Linked DNA regions of Homo sapiens: all the other regions are linked to region 1. The links are contacts of gene promoters, found by promoter capture Hi-C in human tissues and cell types (Jung and others, 2019). All regions are on one chromosome and are shown on one strand. Each heading gives the region's core, a stretch centred on a gene start or on the middle of the fragment in contact. The rest is flanking DNA. Distances are from core to core; before and after follow the strand shown.

The links. Contacts are between HindIII fragments. The study calls those that stand out against the background at their distance.
Region 2: a contact is called between a fragment that was not itself captured here and the fragment with the promoter of NEFH in region 1, in 12 of the 25 tissues and cell types used here (H1 embryonic stem cells, IMR-90 fibroblasts, bladder and 9 more).
Region 3: a fragment that was not itself captured here is called in contact with the fragment with the promoter of NEFH in region 1 in 5 of the 25 tissues and cell types used here (IMR-90 fibroblasts, dorsolateral prefrontal cortex, hippocampus and 2 more).

What each region holds. Positions count from the first base shown.
Region 1 is chr22:29,477,887-29,481,920 of GRCh38, forward strand. NEFH (neurofilament heavy chain) reads left to right here and starts at 2,332. Exons shown (of 4, transcript NM_021076.4): 1 at 2,332-3,259. The coding sequence starts at 2,377. LOC107985541 (a long non-coding RNA gene) reads right to left here and starts at 240. Exons shown (of 4, transcript XR_001755482.2): 1 at 124-240. RefSeq lists enhancers at 292-793, 3,354-4,034. The HindIII fragment of the contact is 10,845 bases long and covers 1-4,034 here.
Region 2 is chr22:29,430,671-29,434,704 of GRCh38, forward strand. It overlaps a transcript of RFPL1 not described here and the pseudogene RFPL4AP6. Among named protein-coding and RNA genes, the nearest start is that of RFPL1, 5.9 kb to the right of the region's middle. The HindIII fragment of the contact is 7,578 bases long and covers 1-4,034 here.
Region 3 is chr22:29,525,096-29,529,129 of GRCh38, forward strand. THOC5 (THO complex subunit 5) reads right to left here. Exons shown (of 20, transcript NM_003678.5): 10 at 3,331-3,371; 11 at 2,983-3,082; 12 at 743-851. Among named protein-coding and RNA genes, the nearest start is that of THOC5, 27 kb to the right of the region's middle. The HindIII fragment of the contact is 3,617 bases long and covers 524-4,034 here.

The DNA of each region.
Region 1 (4,034 bases), core at 1,082-3,581:
CAAGGCTCCAATGGCAAAATTCCAAGTAGAATGACAAATAAATGGGGAGCCATCTGAGAGCAAGGGAGTCCTGCCCAACACCCGCCCCATGCCTTTCTCAGGGACCTCAGACCAGCCACTCACCTCCATCCTCCCAGCACCACCTGCAACCAGCCCCTTGCCCTCTGCAAACTGGAGCACGACTGGATCTTTAGATGGGGGAAAAATGCTTCATCATGTTCTGCTGCTTCATGCAAAACCAGAAACTCCCTCCCCCTCTTCCCTCCTCCCAGCGCACTCTCCTTCCAGTAAAAAGTGGTTAAAGGGACAGCGCCATCAATTTCCCAGCTCTGAGGGTCTGCTTAGAACTAGGGGGCTGGAAGGAGACAGAGGGCAAAGAGAAAGGAACTGGCAGAGGTCTTTCCTGGGGGATATGTCTGTTCTGTCCTGGGGATCCTGGAGCAGGAAAACCCGCGTAAAGTAGGGGTGTAGTGGGTGTTGAGATAACTGCCTGGGGGAGGTTCAGAGTGGAAGTACGAGTCTACAAACTCTCAAGGGCGTCTCAGGGCTCCCAGCATCCCCAGGGGTCCTTTCGCAGGGGTCCCTAAGCAGGAGGGGAACAGCCCAGAAAACACGGAACTGGACCCCCGACAGGAAGTCCAGGGAGGGGTCCCTGGCTCACTATGTGACCCTGCTGGATCACTTGCCTCCCCTCTCGGGTCCCCTCAGCACAGTGTCCCTCCCTTCCTTCCCCTAAAGTAAAAGCAGAGGGTTAATCTCTTTCCCCGCCCCACGCCCAACAAAGAGCAGGCCCTGTCCCCGGTGCTGAAGCGCCAGCCGCAGCACCACCCCCACTCCCACAGCATAAAACATGAGCCAAAACCAATAAAGAGCCAAATGTCACAGCCGTTGCAGGGCCCCCTAAATCCTGGGGACCCCTTCTTCTACCTGACATCCTATTGGGGTGAGGGACTTTGGTACTCAGAAAGCATCTCATCACTTCCCTGTAAGAGAGAAGGGATGCCGACTCAGGCGCCTGCTTGTCTGTTACAGGAGTGGGGGAAGAGAGGACAAGTTGAGGCTGAGAAGATGGGGAGGGGGAGGGAGAAAAGAGGACTTCCTAGTGTTGACAGAACGGCAAGATGTGGGTTCCCCATCCCCAGTTCAGCCAGAGACCCCTCAAAGTGGAACTTCCTGGGGCAGTCGGGGGTCAGGAGTTGGAGCTTGTCTCTGGGGCAAGACCCCTTCGTTGTACAGATGGAAAAACAAGGGTGGGAGGACACAGCTTGTCCAAGGTCATTCGACCAGCAAACTGCCTAGCTGACCCCAGTGTGCAGAAGCTGGCTCGGGTGACACCCATCATTTCCCCCCACCCCACACAGGGGCCAGCTCTCTCAACTTCATGCCCAAGCCCTCCTACGGTACCCCCACTGTAGGTTCTCTGCCCCTCAAACTCAGCCCAGCTTTCTCCTGCCTGTTCAGGGGACCTTCTGCCCGCTTCGCTGAGGGTCCGTCCCCTTTACTGGGGCTGGCAGCAGGGTCTCCCATCTCCTCTCTCGGGGGCCACTGCAGACTTTTTAGAGAACGCCTTGCCTCCCCCCAACCCCACCCATCCGGGGTTCCCTCTCTCCATCCTCTGCAGTGTCTCCCATACCCCCATTCAGGGTAGCCTTGCTATTCTCCCCAACTCCAGGTCCCCCTTCATCTATTCCGGGGCTGGCCGCGGAGTTTCCTGAGCGCTCTCCAAGTGGGTCCTCTAGATGTTAGGAGAACACTGTACCTCCCCCGGTCAGGGGTCTCCTGTCTCCGTTCTATGGAGCGTCCATGCTCCCATTCAGGACTGCCTTGCTCCCTCCTCTGTTCCGGGGCTGGCTGCACAGTCTCTGCACCCCCTATCCTGAAAGCCTCTCTTAACTATTTGGAAAGCCTCGTGTCCTGTCTCATACAGGGATCCCCTCATCCTAATGACTGCAATCTTCCATTGCTCCATCCCGAGGGCATCCTGCCCCTATTCCCATCAGGTTTCTCCTTGTCCTCTCCCTGTTTCAAGTCCCCTTTCTTATTCCGAACACACTCGCAGGCTCTTCCGACGCGCACCCGGGGGTCCTCACTGGCCCACTCCGGGAGTCCTCTGCCCGCTTCCCCGACCTCGAGGGTCTCCTCTGACGCAGCGTCGATTCCCCTTCCCTCCTCGGTCCCCTGCCCCGCCCCTCTCACTGCGGCGGAGCCGGTCGGCCGGGGGGCCGCAGGGGAGGAGGCGGAGAGGGCGGGGCCCTCCTCCCCACCCTCTCACTGCCAAGGGGTTGGACCCGGCCGCGGCGGCTATAAAAGGGCCGGCGCCCTGGTGCTGCCGCAGTGCCTCCCGCCCCGTCCCGGCCTCGCGCACCTGCTCAGGCCATGATGAGCTTCGGCGGCGCGGACGCGCTGCTGGGCGCCCCGTTCGCGCCGCTGCATGGCGGCGGCAGCCTCCACTACGCGCTAGCCCGAAAGGGTGGCGCAGGCGGGACGCGCTCCGCCGCTGGCTCCTCCAGCGGCTTCCACTCGTGGACACGGACGTCCGTGAGCTCCGTGTCCGCCTCGCCCAGCCGCTTCCGTGGCGCAGGCGCCGCCTCAAGCACCGACTCGCTGGACACGCTGAGCAACGGGCCGGAGGGCTGCATGGTGGCGGTGGCCACCTCACGCAGTGAGAAGGAGCAGCTGCAGGCGCTGAACGACCGCTTCGCCGGGTACATCGACAAGGTGCGGCAGCTGGAGGCGCACAACCGCAGCCTGGAGGGCGAGGCTGCGGCGCTGCGGCAGCAGCAGGCGGGCCGCTCCGCTATGGGCGAGCTGTACGAGCGCGAGGTCCGCGAGATGCGCGGCGCGGTGCTGCGCCTGGGCGCGGCGCGCGGTCAGCTACGCCTGGAGCAGGAGCACCTGCTCGAGGACATCGCGCACGTGCGCCAGCGCCTAGACGACGAGGCCCGGCAGCGAGAGGAGGCCGAGGCGGCGGCCCGCGCGCTGGCGCGCTTCGCGCAGGAGGCCGAGGCGGCGCGCGTGGACCTGCAGAAGAAGGCGCAGGCGCTGCAGGAGGAGTGCGGCTACCTGCGGCGCCACCACCAGGAAGAGGTGGGCGAGCTGCTCGGCCAGATCCAGGGCTCCGGCGCCGCGCAGGCGCAGATGCAGGCCGAGACGCGCGACGCCCTGAAGTGCGACGTGACGTCGGCGCTGCGCGAGATTCGCGCGCAGCTTGAAGGCCACGCGGTGCAGAGCACGCTGCAGTCCGAGGAGTGGTTCCGAGGTACGCAGGCGCGCGGGTGGGGGGAGGGGCGCCCCTGCTGACCCCGCAGCGAACTTTTGGGCTGCGTGACCCAAGGGGGCGCTGCCGGACTGCGCGTGGAGTGGCGCGCTGCTCACCTTCCCTCTGCAAAGTGCATGCCCCTAGTTAAATCGCAGTTTTACTCTGGGTCTCTTGTGGGACGCCCCAACTCTGGGTTGTCCTTCGGTTCCCCCTTTCCAGGTTCTTTACGGCTGTACTTCAACTCTGGGCCCCCTGCTGCTCTCTACCCCAAGCTTAGGCGACCCCACTCTGAGATCCCTCCCCCGTCAAGAAAAAAACAAGTTTCCTCTACAGGAAAAAAGTGGTGCAGGATTCTGGTCTGCAAGCGCTGGAGACTCTTAGCCCTTCTAAGTAGCAAGGCTTCCCCGCCAATGCTGCCATGCCCTCTCCTACACCCCGCAAGAAACTCTATTCCTCTCACCCCTACCAGGCTCCTTCCCACTACCTGCTCAGTGCTTAACGTTCCTACCTTAAATCTTCCACGTGGGGGTGGGTCAGGACCTTTTCGCATCCTTTCTTCCTAGAGGGAACCATTACTACAGTCAGTTGTTGCCTGTGGCGGAGGTGGCTGGTGGGCCCTTTCATGTTTTAATGTCCCCTTTCTCCTTTAGGGAAGCTGGGAGCCTCCCAAGTCTGCCCCTCCCCCAACTCCTTGCAGCCCTGAGTCAGCTAGATTGCGCTGCCCTGAGGCTGTGCCCAGCAGCTGCAGGGTGACCTTGACCAACACTTGCCCTCT
Region 2 (4,034 bases), core at 663-3,162, 48 kb before region 1:
TTTTAGAAAAAACATCTTAGTAAGTTTGATAGATTTCTTTGATCAAAACATGAGGAGATATTATTCTCATGAGAAAACTACTTGAAACTAGCCCTATTCATAGATTAATCTTAATGCCAGATATTTCATTGTAACAGTTTCAGCCCTAATCCTGAATCTTTTTATTTTTCCTAAGCAGATAGCTACAGAAATCCCAAATCTTATCAACACCCATAATATACATGGCCTAATTTAGAATGAGATGGCAATATTAGTCTGTATCAATTTTAAAAACCCTTAAGTTAAAATAATCTTTACTTGGGGTAACCAGTTTACAACCTCAGTTAAAATTACGGCATGATTAAATCAAAATCTGATTGGGTTAAGGAAGATAAGCAGGATGTAAATGAGAGGGGAGGAGAGGCTCTTGTAATAAAAACCCCTTGTAAGTGGAGCTCACTCAAAACTGAGCTGTCGGTGGAAGCTACTGGAGGCCAGGGGAGAACCTAATGGAGGAGACACACATCCAGGCTTATGTAGTTTTTCTCGACTTACTAGATTCCTACCAAGGGCAGGTATTAGAGAGCAAGGGCTGCAGGATGGAGTCACTATGAATTCGGCAACATTGTTTGAGGGCAGCTCAATGCCAGGCACAGTGTGTGCACTTAGAGAGACCCTGGGTCACCTTCTAAAAGCAGACAGCAGAACTTAAATTTTCAGTACCCAGTCTGGAGAAATGACAGTCTTCATTTTCCTTAATCATAGTGTGGCCAACTCGATGAGATGATGATGGAGTTTCTCTCTTTGACCTATTCAACCTTTCAGCTACTTAGGAGGGGCTTTTGCCACAGCCAGATTAGAACGATTTTGCAGGGGATAGGGGTGTTGGAGGGTCTCTGAGTCTAGTACATAGCTGTCCAGTAGAAATATAATGTAATCCACATATGCAATGATAAGTTTTCTAGTAGCCACATTAAATTACAAAATGTAAATTTTAATACAAAAAAGTTATTTCAGCGTGTAATCAATCTTTAAAAGTTCTTTTTTTTTTTTTGAGATAGAGTCTCACTGTGTTGCCCAGGCTGGAGTGCAGTGGTGCGATCTCAGCTCTCTGCAACCTCCATCTCCCGGAGACGATTCAAGTGATTCTCCTGCCTCAGCCTCCTGAGTAGCTGGGATTACAGATGTGCGCCACCAAGCCCAGCTAATTTTTTTTGTATTTTTAGTAGAGATGGGGTTTCACCATGTTGGTCAGGCTGGTCTTGAACTCCTGACCTCGTGATCTACCCACCTCGGCCTCCCAAAGTGCTGGGATTACAGGCATGAACCACCACACCTGGCCAAAGTTCTTAATAAGATAACTTACATTCTCTTTTTCTCATACCTCTTCAAAATCCAGTGCGCATTTTACACTGAAGGTGTGATACGCTAACTTACATTAACTTGATTGACTCTCTCTTAGCTAAGAAAGCTGGATGGATTCCATTCGGCTCCTTCATTTGCAAGACATTAAGGGCTCCTTACCCACTCCCTCCCTCAAGGACTTAACTTGTGCAAGCTGACTCTCAGCGCGTCAAAGAGTGCAATTAACTGATAAGATACTGTGGCAAACTATGTCCACAGTTCCCAGGAATTTGCTCAGGTGACAGTACTCTAAAGCCCCCTGCATTTGTGTCTGGAGCCCCCCTCCTATCACCCTGTGATGAATTTAAAGCCCCTGCACCTGGAACTGTTTGTTTTCCTGTAACCATTTGTCTTTTCAACTTTTTTGCCTGTTTTACTTCTGTAAGATTGCTTCAGCTCAATTCCCCCTCCCCTTTCTAAACCAAAGTATAAAAGAAAATCTAGCCCCTTCTTCAGGGCCGAGAGAATTCCGAGCGTTAGCGTCTCTCGGTCGCCGGCTAATAAAGGACTCCTGAATTAGTCTCAAAGTGTGGCGTTTCTCTATAACTCGCTTGGTTACAACAAAGGCACATCCCAATTCCAATAAGCCCCATTTGGGGTGCTCAAGAACCACATGTGGCTGGACCGCTGGGCCTAGACCCTTCACAACACCAGCTTCTCAACTGAAGAATCATGTCCTTCATTCCAACTAGCATTTCCGATATTAGAAGTTCAAGGCCATGACTCTTCTTATATGTATTTTATAGTGTTTTTATCACCTATCACTAGTGATTGTTTATAGCAGGCACTGATATGTCTCTATGCATGTAAAAGTGAAAGAGCCTAAAGGAGTATTGTCATTCAGTTAATTGAACTCCAATATCATGTACCGTTTCTGCAGACATTGGCCATGGCAGAACATTTTAAAGAAGCAAGTCGATGTGTCGGCTGCCTATCTTATCCTGAAAAACCCACTTACTAGCCAGGCACATTGGCTCACGCCTGTAATCCCAGCACTTTGGGAGTCTGAGGTGGGTGGATCTCGAGGTCAGGAGTTAAAGACCAGCATGGCCAAGATGGTGAAACCCCGTCTCTTCTAAAAATACAAAAATTAGCCGGGTGCTGTGGCAGTGCCTGTAATCCCAGCTACTCATGAGGCTGAGGCAGGAGAATCACTTGAACCCAGGGGCAAAGGCTGCAGTGAGCCAAGATGGCACCACAGCACTCCAGCCTGGGCAGCAGAGCAAGACTCCGTCTCAAAAAAAAAAAAAAGGAAAAGAAAAAAGAAAATAATAAAAACCCACATACCTAGAGTGTGGATATCTCTGCTGCTTCCGCTGTATCAGTTCATTTCCAAAGGAGCCCAATGGGGATGATGTATTGTGCGCCATCTGCTCTGTGGTCACTATAAAAGACATCACGCCCCATCTCCTGCTGGGAAAACTGGTTTCCAAAATCAAGGAAGTGGAGCCCCAGCTGAGAAGAATTCTATATTAAAACCCAAGGATGCGGAAGTTTCAAGGTCAGAAATCTGTATAACCTGCGCTCGGCCCACCAACAGCCTTGGAAAAAGCAACTGTTCAAAAGGCTCTCCATTAAATAGGGGCATTAGCTGAATTCTGGCACCTAAAATGTGTATGCCCACCCAACAACAGTTCTCAGCTGTGAGTATAGATTAGAGACAACAGAAGATTTTGAAGAAAATATAACATTTAAGTCATACCCTAGACCTGTGCTGCCCAATATGGTAGCCACCAGTGGCTATGGGGCCCTTGAAACATGGGTGTACCCCATGTGGAAGTGACAATAATTCTGGATATACAAGCTTATAATATGTTATTTAAAGTATTGTTGAATTTTTTTTAATGTCTACAGAAAAATTTAAAATTACCTGGAGATCTTTTATAAAATGCAAATTCTCCTTCTATTGGACTAGGCTGGTTGAGAATCTGGATTTCTGACACACACTCACACACACACACACACACATACACACAAATTTTTTTGAGATGTGGTTTCATGTTGCCCAGATTGGTCTCAAATTCCTCAGCTCAAGCGATCCTCCCACCTCAATCTCCCAAATTGCTGGTATTACTGACATAAGCCGCCGTACACAGCCTGATCTAATAGTATAATAAATAGTTTTTCCATCATCTAGATATTCATTAGATATCTATATTTGAACAGAGTCTGCTAAATTTTATGATTTTGAGAGTAAACAACAGACATGGTTTCTGCCTTCATGGATCTCAAGAAATCTTGAATAATCAAAATGTAAAAAGAATGCTTACTATGAACAAGAGGGATTTGTTACAATTCTATTTCAATCTTCTCTAAGAAATTCTACGGAATCAGGGAATGCAGGGAAGTTTCTATTTGCTGATTTACCTTTTTTCTTTCCACAGTGGATATGACGTCAGATATTGACACAGCCAACAATCGACTCATCATTTCTGAAGACCTGTGGAGTGTCCATTGTGGATTTCTTAGAACCGCACAGAGTATGCCGAGATTCAAACAAGTCATCTGTGTCCTGGGCTCCCCTCGCTTCACCTCTGGACACCATTACTGGGAGGTAGACATGGGGACAGGCAAATAATGGGATTTGGGTGCCTGCAAAGAATCTGTTAATCGACAAGAGAATTGTGTGGTCTTCAGAACTTGGCTTCTGG
Region 3 (4,034 bases), core at 1,082-3,581, 47 kb after region 1:
GACCCCGTTTCTATAAAATAAAAATAGAAAGTCAGCCAGGCATGGTGGCATGCACCTGTAGTCCTAGTTACTCAGGAGGCTGAGGTAGGAGGATCACTACAGCCCAGAAGTTTGAGGCCACAGTGAGCTATGATTATGCCATGGTCCTCCAGTCTGGGCAACATAGTGAGACTGTGTATCAACAAAAATAGAAATTAAAAAAAGAACACTGTAGTCAGGGCCTTCCTGGGGATGCGATGATGGCTGTCATTACTGTGCCTCTGCTCACTCTTCTCAAAACTTTCACAGGGACCCACCACAGTCCTCCCACCACCCAGATAAGGACATGGGCTTGGGCTGAGCTGGGGAGCAAAAATCCCAGCACCTTGGGATAGAAAGAGAAAAGGGAAAGAGTGGCCTGAATTTGGCAACCTAATAATGTCTGCCAAATCTCATTTTATATTCACACACTTTCCACTGGTAGCAAAAAGCTGGTGCTCTGCCCCACCTACTCAATTTGCAAATATGCTGTTGTCACTTTTATCATCTGCTGTGTAGTAAGAGGACTTCACAAATTAAAGTCAGAGAGTGCTTTCTAAATACCAGCGATGTGCCAGGACTTCTGGTCCATCTGGATACAAGACAAGTCAACACAGCCGTAGCCCTCTCCAGAGCCAGAGGGAGGAACCGAGAGCAGCCCCACAATGAGGCTCTCATCACCTCCCCATCCCGCACGTCATTGCCCAGAGCGCCTGCTCAATACCCTGCACTGATGGGGGTGATCAGCTCCATGGCAGTTGTCACTTTGGCTTTTACTGTCATGATGTTGAGGTTCATGAGGTAGTAGAAAGTCAGGTGAAGCACACTGTCATCTGGAGGGGAGGAAGATGAGAGAATTTATGAGTCAAAACACTCAGAGCAGAGTGAACAGAGTCATAGGGGGTAGTAAGGTGGGGGGGTCAAGTGTTGAAAAACTAACTACTAGGTATTATGCCCACTACCTAGGTGACGGGATCATTCATACCCCAAACCTCAGGACCACGCAAAATAGTGTAACAAATCGGCACATGTATCCCCAGAATCGAAAATAAAAGTTGAAATTATAACAAAAAAAGAAAAACAGAATTATAGAAAAATTCAGAGACTTTTACAATCATTTACTATAAAAACAAAATCGGCCAGGCGCGGTGGCTCACACCTGTAATCCCAGCACTCTGGGAGGCCAAGGTGGGCAGATCATGAAGTCAGGAGATCGAGACCATCCTGGCTAACACAGTGAAACCCCGTCTCTACTAAAAATACAAAAAATCAGTCGGGCGTGGTGGCGGGCACCTGTAGTCCCAGCTACTTGGGAGGCTGAGGCAGGAGAATGGTGTGAACCCAGGAGGTGGAGCTTGCAGTGAGCAGAGATCACGCCACTGCACTCCAGCCTGGGCAACAGAGCGAGACTCTGTCTCAAGAAAAAAAAAAATCACAACAGTAATATAATGAACAAAAAGAAGCAAGGAGAGCATCTACAAATTCTTTGCTACGCTTCCCACCAAGAGGTAGGGCTTAATTTCTCTGCCCTTGAGAGTGGGCTGGACTTAGTGACTCTGCTTCTAACAAATACAAGATGGAAAGGGAACCAAGCGATCAAGGTCAATATCAGCAGAAATAATACAGTGGCATCAGGTACTCCTGATATGACATGATAGCGACGACCTCATCTATGCTATTCTCTCCCCCAAATCCATAATCTCAGTCTAATCAAGGTCATGAAACACAAGGAAAGACTGAGACACTCACTGCCTAGAGCAGACTAAGGAGCATGGCAACTAAATGCACTTTGAGACCCTGGCTTGGATCTTGGGACAGAAAAAGGACATTAATTAAAAAAGGAAGAAACTAAAAAAATTCTGTCATTTTGTTAACAGTATTGGGCCAATGAAATTAAGAGTGGTGTGGATCGCTGTTAATCATACCATCTTTAATTAAGATGTAACTTTAGGGAAGCTGAATGAAGAGTATATAGGAACTCATGTTATTTTGGCAAGTCTTCTATGAGCCTAAAATTATCTCAAAGCCAGCCATGGTGGTGCACGCTTCCAGTCCTAGCTACTTAGGAGGCTGAGGCAGGAGGATCGTTTGAGCCCAGGGGTTCAAGACCAGCCTGGGCAACATGACAAAACCCCATCTCTACAAAAAATACAAAAATTAACTGGCATGATGGCACATGCCTGTAGCCCCCGCTACTTGGGAGGCTGATGTGGGAAGATCGATTGAGCCCAGGAGGTTGAAGTTGCAGTGAGCCGTGATCATGCCACTGTACTCCAGCCTGGATGACGAGAGTGAGACCCTATCTCTAAAAACAAACAAACAAACAAACAACCAGCAAAAAGAAAACCAGTGCGTAGAGCCTATTTCCATTTGTGTAAAAAATAAAGTGGGAAGCAGATAAATATACATTTGTATAAAAGCTTCCAGGTGCAAAGAATCTTTCTAAAAAATACATAAGAAGTCTGTAATAATGGTTGCCCTTGGAGGTGAGACCTAGGACTGGTATATAGGAACCTGTGGTGAGAGGGAAACTTAAATTTTACTGTTAGCTCTTCTACTGCTAGAACATTTTATTATATGGTACTTTTTCATACAAACCAACTTCAAAACATATACTCTGCAGAATACAAAGTTCTACTTACATTTATTAAACATGTTGGTCTTACTAAAAACCTGTATACTTTTGCAACTTGTTCTAGATATTTGACTTGCTAGATTCAGAAAGAGGTATAGTTTTCTCAAGCTTCTGCCTTATGTGACTGGAGTTTTGTTGCTATGTTGTTACGGTTATGATTTAACAAAAAGAAACAAAGTCCATGCAAAACAATAAGGAAAAACAAAGCAATATGAAATGGGAATCCTTTGTTGGGCAAATGGGTGTTTGGCTCCCGGACCCTCTGCACCTGCAGCTGGGTGAACTCTTAGGTGCTACAGATCCCTTAAACAAGGTGAGTGCAACCAGACCTTTGCACTTCAGGTCGAGCATGACAGACAGTGGGTGCCTCTTCAGCATCTCCTTGCGTTTGTCGTCCAACTGAACCCCCAGTGTGGGTCTCCGGCGCTTCTGGACAAAGGAAAGTGCCAAGCTGATGAGCATCAGTCATAGCAATCTCCCCTTCCCTCTCCCAACCAGCCAGGCCTCAGCCCTACTGCCTGGCACCTGCTGCTTCAGCTAGCTGGGTTGTCAGACTCCCCTCCCAGCAGCACCTTCTTTCACACCTCTTCTGCTTCTAGGGAGGACGGCACCTGCGAACAAGCATGCCCCAGTGCATGCAGCTGCTTGATGCCCCCACAAGAGGAAATGGTTCTCACCGTAGTCTGCTCCTCCTCGGCATCTGAGTCACTCTCGTCATCTGCAGCCACAGAGAGAAGGCAGCTAGAGGTGAGGGGGCTCCAAATGCTCCCTAAAGCACTCCAACCCACATGGCATAAAGGGGCCCTGACTCTGTCTTTTGTAAATAAGTTTCTCTGTAATAAATAATAAATTAACTTGCTGCTTCTTATTCAGTATACAAAACATGGTGATGAAAAAAGAAAAAAGAAGAATGACGTATAACTCATTTTTTTCAAAGGGCTTTTTGATGTCATTTAGATGGAACACAAGCCCCTCCTTGTGATGGTGGTGGTGGCTGTGGTAATAATAGTAACACAAATAATAATAATAGTAGTAGAAGCATGCATAACTTGAGGGGGTACTATGTGCTGAGAATTATGCTAAAGGCTGTATGTGCATTACCTTATTTAATCCACATAACAATCCTACATGAGGTGTTACTATCTGTTTTCACAAAGGAATAAACTGAGGCTCTGAAATATTAAATACCTTCCTCGGGGTCAGTCAGCTAGTGAGTGGCAGGGCTGAAATCCACGGGCCGCACCTTGTGACTCCGGGAAGTGAGCTCTCTTTCCTGTCTACTCCAGGGTGCTAAGACATTCAAGTCAAGCTTCCTGCTACACAGAACTAGTCCAGCTAGTTCTCCAAAGACCAGGACTGCCCTTGGATGGTGACCTGGTGT